Linked DNA regions of Homo sapiens: region 2 is linked to region 1. Evidence: promoter capture Hi-C in 16 types of primary human blood cells and fetal thymus (Javierre and others, 2016). All regions are on one chromosome and are shown on one strand. Each heading gives the region's core, a stretch centred on a gene start or on the middle of the fragment in contact. The rest is flanking DNA. Distances are from core to core; before and after follow the strand shown. Region 1 holds the start of MYO3B-AS1 (MYO3B antisense RNA 1). Region 2 overlaps UBR3 (ubiquitin protein ligase E3 component n-recognin 3).

Evidence for each region. Contacts are between HindIII fragments. The CHiCAGO score rates a contact against its expected background, and 5 or more counts as called.
Region 2: a contact is called between a fragment that was not itself captured here and the fragment with the promoter of MYO3B-AS1 in region 1, in 2 of 17 cell types (megakaryocytes and endothelial precursors). The highest score is 7.0, in megakaryocytes.

What each region holds. Positions count from the first base shown.
Region 1 is chr2:170,348,765-170,354,732 of GRCh38, reverse strand. It overlaps MYO3B-AS1 (MYO3B antisense RNA 1), which reads left to right and starts at 3,790. Exons shown (of 4, transcript NR_110576.1): 1 at 3,790-3,854. The region is part of intron 8 of MYO3B (myosin IIIB); the gene reads right to left. RefSeq lists an enhancer at 1-644. The HindIII fragment of the contact is 2,320 bases long and covers 1,998-4,317 here.
Region 2 is chr2:169,937,685-169,943,781 of GRCh38, reverse strand. It overlaps UBR3 (ubiquitin protein ligase E3 component n-recognin 3), which reads right to left. Exons shown (of 39, transcript NM_172070.4): 20 at 1,148-1,289. Among named protein-coding and RNA genes, the nearest start is that of UBR3, 110 kb to the right of the region's middle. The HindIII fragment of the contact is 2,551 bases long and covers 2,440-4,990 here.

The DNA.
Region 1 (5,968 bases), core at 2,541-5,040:
CAACCAAGCCTTTAATTTGCTGAATAATAGGCCATCTAATTAACCCTTGCAAAGTAAAGCACAGACGTTGCAGGCAACCAACACATGTTCCCAAGAGGTTGGGAAAGAAGGGGGAGGGGGAGACAGTTTGGAATACTTTTGACTCCTATTGTTAGGGAACTAACTCTATGCATGGGTTTCTGAATGGTTATCTTTCTGTTTTCCTTTCTAATTTTCTCCATTCTGTTTCCCCAGGGGACCTGCTGTTTCCCCGCCCTGGTATTATGGTGTGTCCTGAGCTTGAAGCCACTGTTAATTCACTGACATGCATAGATAGGTGATACAGAATGACTGTCACAAAATATACTCATAGCAGCAAATCAGTGACATCAAAGGATCTTTTAGGACCACTTACCCACCCATCTCTGCTCTAGACAGGCCACTGTGCTCTGGGGAAAGAAAAACAAAACAGAACAAAAAAAAGGAACCAGAACTGATGACAAGGAGAAAGGGAAGAGAAGAGAAAAGAAGAGAGGGAGTAACACTAGCTCAGGCACTTCTTGGATCTCTTCCAATTCAACAGGCAATGCCTAGCATTAAACAGGGTTGTCTGATTCTTTCTGCGGGATCCTATTACTGGAAGTAGACAACTGTACATACTATGTTGCCAAGGACAGGTAACAGGTTAGATGGATCACGAATTTCATACTAGTATGCATTAATAATAAATCATAGACATATTACCCTTCCTGCTAGTTATATCAGATAATGCGATGAATGATTGAATGTGTGACACAGTGGTCAATTATCATGTGGATGATATAAATTCTATTGTGCTGAGGACATTTATCTCTTTATTGATCTGGCTTTGCTAGCAAGGATCATAAATTACTAGCCTTCCATAACCATATGATGAATACTCTAATAAGAGAATGCCACCAAGTCCTGTTTTCATAATAAATTCCCTTATGATTTCAGTTAGAAAAGTAGCATGCAGAGAATTTGTTTTATTTTATTAAAGACTTTATTTTTACAACAGTTTTAAGTTCACAGCAAAATTGAGAGAAAGGTACAGAGATTTCCCATATACCCCGGCCCCCCTACACGCACAGCCTCTCCACTGTCAACATCCCCCACCTGTACATTTGTTACAATTGAGGAACTCATACTGACACATCGTAATTACCCAGAGTCCATGGTTTACATTAAAGTTCACTCTCAGTGTTGTACATTCTATAGGTTTGGGCAAATTTATAATGACATGTAATCCATTCGTAGAGTATTATACAGAGTATTTTCACTGCCCGAAAAATCCTGTGGGTTCCACCTGTTCTTCCCCTCCCTCCCTGCCCACAACTCCTGACAACTACTGATCTCCATACTGTCTCCATGGTTTTGCCTTTTCCAGAATGTCACGTAATTGGAATCCTACAGTATATAGACTCTTCAGATTGGTTTCTTTCACATGGTAACATGAATTTAAGATTCCTCCATGTCTTTTCATGGCTTGATAGCTGATTTCTTTTTAGCAGTGAATAATGTTCCATTGTCTGGATATACCAGAGTTTACTCATCCATTCACCTACTGAAGGACATCTTGGTGATTTCCAAGTTTTGGCACTTGTAAATAAAACTGTGATAAACATTCATGTGCAGATTTTTATGTGTATATAAGTTTTCAATTCCTTTAGGTAAATATTAAAAAGGGCGATTGCTAGACCCTACGGTAAGCATATGTTTACTTTTGTAAGAAATTAGCAAACTGTCTTCCAAAGTGGCTATACCATTTGCATTCCCACCAAAAATGAAGGAGAGTTCCTTTTGCTCCACATCCTTGGCAGCATTTGGTATTGTCAGTGTTCCAGATTTTGGTCATTCCAATAGGTATGTAGTGGTATCTCATTGTTGAATCTTTTTATTTTATTGTCAAAAGTTATATGCAGTAGGAAGACTATGAGGAAATCCTGTCTATCCCAAACGAGTAAACAATAGTATCCTAGAACCAGCATGCATAAGCTTACTAGACATTACTGTTAACATTTTCAGGAATTCTGTGAGCTGGTTGATATCAGATTGATAGCTTGAAATTGGCTATGGTGGGAATATTTACACCATGAAAACGAGTAAACACTGAAAATCAGCCCCACTCCCACCCCTATCCGCAACCAGCCAGTTTAAACATTTACCAGTACACCACTGCTTATGTACTGGAAATCTTGGGAAAAACTGACTGCCTGATAATTCAAAAGCATGGTCATATAGATAGAAATCTCTTTTTACCAACCTTTTCCTCCAATGCTTTTTTTCCTCATTTCCTGTCTTCTGTTAGATTGATTAAATTTTCTGTAGACCCTTTCTTCTTTTGGTTTAGAAACTAGACATTGTTTTTCTATAGTTTTAACATATTTGCTTAACTACAAATTAGTTTAACATGTTTGCTTAACTGTCAATTTTCCTGTAGTTCTATCCCCTTTCTGAGTACAAAAACCTATGCGTGCCTAGGCCGGGCACGGTGGCTCACACCTGTAATCTCAGCATTTTGGGAGACCAAGGAGGGCGGGTCACCTGAGGTCAGGAGTTCGAGACCAGTCTGGCCAACACGGTGAAACCCCGTCTCTACTAAAAATACAAAAATCAGCCAGGTGTTGTGGCATGCACCTGCAACCCCAGCTACTCAGGAGGCTGAGGCAAGAGGATCGCTTGAACCTGGGAGGCGGAGGTTGCAGTGAGCCGAGATCATGCCACTGCACTCTAGCCTGGGCGACGGAGCGAGACTCCATCTCAAAAACAACAACAAAAAACCAAACAAAGAAAAACAACTTGTGCATGCCTAAATCACACACTGGATGCTGTCCCTGCCCCAACTGTATGATTAGAGTTAGTTTTTACGTATTTTATCCCAAATTGTTTTCCTTCTTACAGTTAGTAGTTATCTACATTAATCCTTCAGACTATTCCATGAATTTAGTTTCATTTCAAACGAATTTATGCTTCATTTGTTGTTTTGGTGGGTTGTCTTCCTCAGCTTTAGGTTTATTCAGGTGTTCTGAAATTTCAGTTGGCAGGCTCACTGAAAGGGTGAGGAGGAAGAGGATTTTGTTTTCTCTCTCCCTCTCACTTCCCCTTTGCCCACCCTCCTATTCTAGTAATGTTATGGTTATGTCTGCTTGGCTCTCTGGGTCTCTAGCCCAGAGCCAGGTTGTAGAATGGCATTTTGTGCTGCTGTCCCATGGTCTTATTGGGCATATGGAAGAGCCTATGACTGTGGCAGCCACAGGCCTGGCTGCTTATATATCCTTCTACCATCCTCAGCCAGAAGGTGGCTAAAAGTCATAGTCCTGGGTGATGGTCAGCATCACCCCAGACGATGGAGAATATGTGGAAGAAATTGCTACAGTTAGAGCACAGGATCACATAACCTCTCCCCTACCCCATTCTTTTTCCCAGACGCTTTTTATCAGCCTAAATGAACCACCTCATTTACTGGCTTCAAGTAGGAGTCTCAACTCTGAATCCTATCTTGTTTGGAGCCCTGTTAGTCTTTTTACTCACAGGAGTCACCACTGCTCTTGATACCTGCGGACCTGTGACTTCAGCCCAGCTGAGCACTTCATGAGCATTCCATTCTCATCCATCACAATGAACATTCTGAATATAACTAACTTCCTTCCTTCCTGCCTTCCTCCCTCCCTGCCTTCCCTTCCTTCCTGCCTTCCTTCTTCCTTCCTCCCTTTTTTCTTTTCTCCCTTCCTTCCTTCTTAATATGTTTTTGGCCTTTTCTTTATATATGTGGCCTAGCAATATCCTGTGTTTGGAAAAGTATAAACCTAAGGCATCACCTTTACAGAAAATATCTTCCACGGAAACATCTAAAGGCAAAAATCCTTCAAATTCAAATTTATCCAATCATTTCTTCTGCTTACTACCATCCTAAATCATTTTTCTTTAGTAAGATCTATTAGTGTGAAGCTATTAAGCTATTAATGTATGTATCATATTAATGTATTAAGACATTAAGGTACGTGGCCAAAATTAACATCTGTGAGACGTGCCCCTAATCTTTTTTCCCCCTGCCAACACCTTGATTTTAACCTAATTTTATTTTACAGTGAGGAAGTAAAGTTGCATTCACAGGCCTTGAACTTTTCCACATCTCGATTTTTACCCATCATCTCTGCATAGTTCCCTAAGGCAGCCTTCAAATGGTGATGTTTCTTATAATCCAGAGTTCAGAAGTGGCTTCTCTTCAATCTTTCTGTGGAATTCTAAACCACGTGATAAAGGAGCTGGTGGTGAGAAATAAGGGAAGGCAGAGATGAAAAGGAATGGGCAGAAGCTTTTGGAGAGGAATAACCACTGAGATTGCCATGAAGGATTCATTCTGACATTCTTTTCATGTATTTAAGGCAATCAAAAAAGAATCCACAGCTAACCACGTAGCTATCAATTTAACAATCCTATCATGTTTCTTCTTACAGTTAAAATTTCGGTTTTTGGGAGGTCGAGGCGGGCAGATCACTTGAGCCCACAAGTTGGAGATCAGCCTGGGCAACATGGCAAAACCCAGTCTCTACTAAACATACAGAAAATTAGCTGGGTGTGCACGTGCCTGTAATCCCAGCTACTTGGGAGGCTGAGGGAAGAGGATTGCTTCACCCTGGGAGGTTGAGATTGCAATGAGCCGAGATCGCGCCACTGCAATCCAGCCTGGGCAACAGAGCAAGACACTATCTCAAAGGAAAAAAAAATGTTCAGTTGTGTTCTGGGATACTGTGTGTATATTGAGAGAGGAAGGTGTATCTGACCACTTTTGCCACCCCTTATTCTCTTCCTTATCATTATGTTTGTCGTTTGGAGAGACTGTCCAAAGATCATGAGTTCTAACATCCAACTTCTATCTAGGTCCATTATATGAGGTGCATAATTTTTTTCTTTCTTTCTTTTTTTTTTTTTTTTGAGACAGGGTCTCATTCCATCGCTCAGGCTGGAGTGCAGTGGTGCAATCTCAGCTCACTGCAACATCCACCTCCCAGATTCCAGTGATCTCCTGCCTCAGCCTCCCAAGTAGCTGGGATTACAGGTGCCCACTACCATGCCCGGCTAATTTTTGCATTTTTAGTAAAGACAGGGTTTCACCATGTTGGCCAGGCTGGTCTCAAACTCCTGACCTCAAGTGATCCACCCACCTCGGCCTCCCAAAGTGCTGAGATTATAGGCATGAGCCACCACACCCGGCCATGAGGTGCATAATTTTAAGAGTATCACTTCCTCTAAAGAATTCGTGGTTCTTCAAAAGGAATGGATATTTACTGAGTTCCTGCCATGTTCTAGGAACTGTGCTAGGTATTGGGGATATGAAGCAGTAAAGATACATTCTCTGCTCTCAAGGAATTTACAGTTTGAGTGGGGAGACAGACGTAGAAACAAATAATTCCAGGATGGCTTGACATGCTCCCTCTCTCCCCATTATTATAAAGTTCTGTAAAAGGCACAACGCTGACATAAAAGCATGAAGGAAGGGGCCTCTGAGTCCTCCTGGGGAAGTCAGGGGAAGCATCACTTGTTCAATTTTTCTAGAATGTGCAGGGAGTTTGGAGGAGAGAATGGTATTACATAGAAAGGGGCAGATCCTTCATGACCTTGTGTGTTACAGAGTTTTAGTGCACCCTGTAAGCACTGGGAAGACACAGAATAATTATGAGTAGGGCATGACTTGATCAGTTTAGGGATTCAGAAAGATCACACTGACTGTTTTGTGCAGGATAATTTGTGATGAGATCCAGGGAGAGTATTATGAAAGCTGCTGCTCTAGTTGGAGCAGAGATCTGAATCATCACCCAGAAACACTTGGCCCCTATAAGATGGAATGTTCTGGGTAGCCAGAAAAAGCCAGATAACAAAACTACTACCCCAAATTAGAAGTGGATTAGGGAAAGCACATATACTAAGCTATAGCCAGCTCTCCTACATCTAGAGCCTGTGGGCGCTT
Region 2 (6,097 bases), core at 2,466-4,965, 410 kb after region 1:
AACAAATATTCTCATTTTTCTTTGAATTTCTTTTAATTTTTAATTTTTCAAATTCTAATTAGGAAGAAGAACAATAGGTTTTCTTTGTATCTACCTGCATAACATTTATCATGTCTATATAGTTATATTATCTACATGAGTATAGTTATTTTCTTTTTTCTTTCATCTTTCTTCCCCCTCCAAGTTGGAGTCCTGCTCTGTCACCCAGGCTGGAGTGCAGTGGCACAATCTGGGCTCACTGCAACCTCCACCTCCCGGGTTCAAGCAATTCTCCTGCCTTGGCCTCCTGAGAAGCTGGGATTACAGGCGCCCACCACCACACCCACCTAATTTTTGTATTTTTAGTAGAGACAGGGTTTCACCATGTTGGCCAGGCTGGTCTCGAACTCCTGACCTCGTGATCTGCCCACCTCAGCCTCCCAAAGTGCTGGGATTACAGGCGTGAGCCACCGCGCCCAGCCTTCTTTCATCTTTCATGCAGATGAGATTATAAAAATCCCTATTATATACACACATACATACTATACAATATTATGCTTCACACAAGTTTTTGAGTACACAATTAATGTTAGTCAAATAAATCTGTCTTACGTGAGAAGATCCCAAAATAAAACAAATTTTAGATAACAAGCAAGTAAAAGCATCATCTTGTTAGTTCCTAAAATGTTTATCAAAAACAATTTTTGATCTTGCCACATAGAAACCACACTCAAATCCTTCCACGTCACTTTCCTGATTAGAGGGAAAAAGCAAAAAGAACCCCCCAACCTAAGATTCACTGCCTCACATAACTGCCATTCTAGTTTTGTCATTTTAGTGGGTTCTGATGGTTGTTTGGTCCCTGTAGCTCATTCCACACCTCCTGTAGTTCCACGGTATTTCACTTACTGTTCTACAGAATCCATAAATAAATACTTTTATCGGTAGCTAGATAAGATAAATAGTTTCTCACAAAGAATGCTGTAGCTATTCTGTTATGTTCAACTTGGATTTCAAATACATGTGATTATAACATATCTTCATACATCTTAAATGCATAAATACACTTTGCTTTATAAGTGGTACTTTTATGTAAATATTATCCTTTAGGATTATTATTTGAAAATAAATTCTAAGCTTAGTCTTTCTATTCAAATTACTACTGTACCTTGTAAAGCAGAGTGAATAGCACAATGTGTAAAGTTTTACAGTGCAAAAGTCTCATAAGACCTTTATAGCTAGGATGGAGTGATGTCCTTTTCTTATATGGAGGCCAGGGATTTCCAGGAAATTTTCCACTCTGTTTTAAACTGTAAAAATAAAACAAAACTAGAATTAGATGATAGCCTCAAAATCAAACTGTGGTTTAAATGTAATTTATAGACACCAATTTCTGTCACAATATTTTATGCAGTGCTATTTTTAATCAAATTGCTTAAAATGCCAAAGAGGTATCTATTCTCTACACAATGAACATTACTATTTCTTTTCCTAATGGCTAAAGATGAGTAAAGAGAGCTAAGCTGAAAATTAAAAAATATATAAACTTTAAAGTGCTAACAAAGAGAAATGAACAGAAAGAATACACATGAAGTACTCAGCAAGGAAATTTCCAGCTGTAACGATTAAGCAAAATAGACGACCTGAAAATTCTCCCACTACGAATGGTTGGAAAAGCTGGATAAAATATAAATGTAATCTTTTGAATGCGTATTTGAGCTCACACAAAAGTGGAATTCTCCAGTTACCAGAAAAAAAGAAGGAATTAATGACAAGCACTAACACTGTGCCAGTGGTTTTAAAGTCCTTGAGCAAACAGATCACAAGGTATGTTGGGCTCACACAAGGCTCAGAGATAGAACTGATATCCCATCTAAAGCTGAGACCCTTGACAGGCTTTACCCTCACTGAAAGAGTAACTCACAAGGAGAATGAATTAGCTTGTCTGTCTCTTCTGGGATGTAAGAACAAGTTCCCCAAGAAGATAATTATGAACTTGTATGCAAATACAGTAGTCCCCTCTTATCTTCAGGGAACACGTTCCAAAGCCCCCAGTAGATGCCTGAAAATATGGATAATAACAAACTCTCTACATACTATGTTTTCCTACACATACATACCTATGATAAAGGTTAATTTATAAATTAGACACAGTAAGAGATTAACAACAGTAAGTGATAATAGATTACAGCAATATACTGTAATAAAAGTTAGGTGAATGTGTACATGCTTTCTCTCTCAAAATACCTTATGTATAGTAGTCCCCCTTATACCTAGTTTCACTTTCCACAGTTTCAGTTACCCATGGTCAACCATGGTCAGAAAATATTAAATGAAAATCTCCAGAAATAATTCACAGGTTTTCAATTGGATGCCATTCGGAGTATTGTTATAATTGTTTTATTTTATCTTTAGTTATTACTGTTAATCTCTCACTATCTCTAATTTATAAATTAAGCTTTATCATAGGTATGTATTGTAGGAGAAAAACATAGTATATATAGGGTTTGGATACCATCCCTCATTTCAGGCATCCACTGTGGGTCTTGGAACATGTCCTGAGGATAAGAGGGGGACCATTGTACTATACTCACTCCTGTTATTCTTGGGATGATATGAGATGATAAAATGCCTATGTGATGAGATGAAGTGAAGTGAATGATGGTAAGCACTGTGACATGGTATCGGGCTACTAATGACCTTCTAACAACATGTCATCAGAAGGAGGAATATCTGCTTCAGGTGATCCTGAATCATCAGGCCATGACAATGTGATGGCTGGATGTCAGGAGCAGACAATGTCAATAACTAACAAGTGAGTAGTATATACAGCATGGTACACTGGACTAAGGAACAATCCATATTCCAGGTGGGACAGAGCAGGATGGCACAAGAATTCATCATCCTGCTTATAATGGCATATAATTTAAAATCTATAAATTACTTATTTCTGGAATTTTCCATTTAATATTTTCGGACAGCCATTGGCTACAGGTAACTGAAAGTACAGAAAACTAAACCACAGATAAGAGGGGACAACTGTAATAGCAGCCTCATAATACAAAAGGCAAATTTTGAGGGAATTACACAGAGAAAACGACAAATCTACAACCATAGTAAAGGATATTAACATACTTATCTAAATGAGAGCCAGAAAAACATTGGTAAACAGTTTTAAGATTTTTAACAACACAATTAAGAAGCATGGGCAAAGGCAACATGCAACAAGTAGTGAATACACATAATTTTAACAGCGCTTAGAATATTTATAAAAATTGACTATGTAGAATGCAAAGTAAATCTCAAAAATATCAAAAAAACAGATACATGAACCACATTCACTTGTCACATAGCAAATAAAACTAGAAACCAACTTAAAAATATAACTCAAAACTCCAGACATGCAGACATTTTAAGGCGCTATGCTCTTAGAAATTCAGAAGCCATTAAAAATCATAACAGAAAAATTTAAAGCCTAAACTATATAGAAAAAGTTGTGGGCCACAACTAAAGTAGTACTTAGAAGGAAATACATAGCCTTAAAATCCATACATTTGTTAAAAAATCAACAACTAAGCATCCAAATTATAGTTAATAATAATGTATTTTATATTTCAAAATAGCTAGAAGAACTGTAATGTTCCCAACATAAAAAGAAGATAAATGTTTGAGGTGATGAATATCCCAATTTCCCTGATTTGATCATTACACATTGTATACATGTATGAAACTATCAGAGAAGTATCTTCAAATACTGTGTAAAAGGTAATGTTAAGGCTAAGATATATCAATTAAAAATATTTTTAAAATCTATAACAATAAAAATTAAAAGGGAGTAATTAAAAATGAAAACCAAATGCACTGAAACAACAGCAATGACCAAGTATCCAAGAAAAGGAAAAAAGACAATCCAAACTAAATTGAAAGAAGATAATAATGGCCTGGCATAGTGGCTCACACCTGTAATCTCAGCACTTTGGGAGGCCAAGGCAAGCAGATCACTTTGAGCTCAGTAGTTCAAGACCAGCCTGGGCAACATGATGAAACCCTGTCTTTACAAAAAATACAAAAATTAGCCAAGCATGGTGATGCACCCCTGTAATCCCAGCTACTCAGGAGGCTGAGGTGGGAAGATCGCTTGAGCCCAGGAGTTAAAGGCTACAGTGAGCCAAGATTGCACCACTACACACCAGCCTGGAAGACAGAGTGAGACTGTCTCAAAAAAGGAAAAAAAAAGGCCTGGCACGATGGCTCACACCTGTAATCCCAGCACTTTGGGAGACTGAGGTGGGCGGATCACGAGGTCAGGAGATCGAGACCATCCTGGCTAACATGGTGAAGGCCTGTCTCTACTAAAAAAAAAAAAAATACAAAAAATTAGCCGGGCGTGGTGGCAGGCGCCTGTAGTCCCAGCTACTCAGGAGGCTGAGGCAGGAGAATGGCATGAACCTGGGAGATGGAGCTTGCAGTGAGCAGAGATCCTGCCACTGCACTCCAGCCTGGGCAACAGGGCGAGACTCCATCTCAAAAAAAAAAAAAAGTTAATAAGTAATAGAGGAAAAAAGAATAAGAATGAAATAGAAAATGGGGGTGGGAGGAGAGAGACAATCAAAACTTGGTTCTTAGAAAACATAGTAAAACTGATAATCATCTCATATGACACCTAATTCAAAATAAGAAATAGCAAACACAAATAAATAATAGGAATAAAAACACAAGGAAGATTTTTTTAATCATTAAATATAAACGTAAAATAAAGATTTCTTAGAAAAATATAACTTAGTAATTTTTTTCAAGAAATAACCTAAGCAAGCCTAAAACCTTTAAAGAAAGTGAATGTGTAGTTTTAAGTTATCCACAAAAAAAGATGTATGAGGCCCAGGTTGTTGAACAGGCAAGGTCTATTAAAACTCAAAGGAACACCACATGAATAAGAATTAAGTTGGACCACTACCTCACAGCATACATAAAAACTAACTCAAAATCGACCAGAGAATTTGATGTAAAAGCTTCAGCTTTAGTTTTATATTTTTAGGCATAAAACTCTTGGGGAAAAACATAGGTTTAGGTATCTGTGACCTTGATTTAGGCAACAGAAGGAAAATTAAATTAATTTAGGCAACAAACAGGAAAATTAAAGAAAAAAATTGGAATTCATCAAAATTTAAAACATTTGTGACCCAAAGAACACTTTCAAGTAAGTGAAAAAGACAATCCACAGAATGACAGAAAACATTTACAGACCGGGCACAATGGCTCATGCCTGTTATCCTAACACTTTGGGAGGCTGAGGCAGGCAGATCACTTAAGCTGCAGAGATCAAACCAGCCTGGGCAACACATGTAGAGACCCCATCTCTACAAAAAATTCAAAAATTAGCCATGTGTGATGGCGTATGTCTGTAGTCCCAGCTACTCGGGAAGCCAATCAGGACCACATGAGCCTGGGAAGGCCCAAGGCTGCAGAGAACTGTGATCATGCCACCAGCCTGGGCAACAGAGTGACAGTGTCTCAAAAAAAAAAAAAAAGGAGAAAGAAAATATTTGCAAATCATATAACTGATAAGTCTAGTATTCAGAATATATGAAGAGGTCTTAAAACTCAATAATAAAAAGTGCAATTAAAAAATGAGCAACAAAATTGGCAGCACCTGATACCTTTATAAATGGAGGTGGGAAGGCAAGGGGCTAAAATAAGGAGGATCGGATGAAAACTGCCTTTCCACCACTGAAACAGAATTTTGGCTACAGAACTCATCTCTGGGGAGGATCAAATAGCAAGTACAATTGAGGATATGAGGATGAGAGATTAAAATCATCATATAAGTATTTGACTCAGAGTCCCTAGGCCTTGTCTCTCAATCCGTTTACAGAATAATAGCACCAATACCATTTCCTTCTGGGCAATATCTGAGGATACTTCCCTGAGGAATCTGACCAGGCCAAAAAGAAAGATCTAACACAAGTGCTTCTCAACCAACCTGCCTACCCAAATCACCCTATATTAAAATTCAGAATCTACTAGTTCCACCAATGCACTCAAGAACTCTTAATAACAAGCAGTCAACATTGTCAGACATCTGGGGAATGCCTCTAACTTGAAAGCTAGAGACTGAACA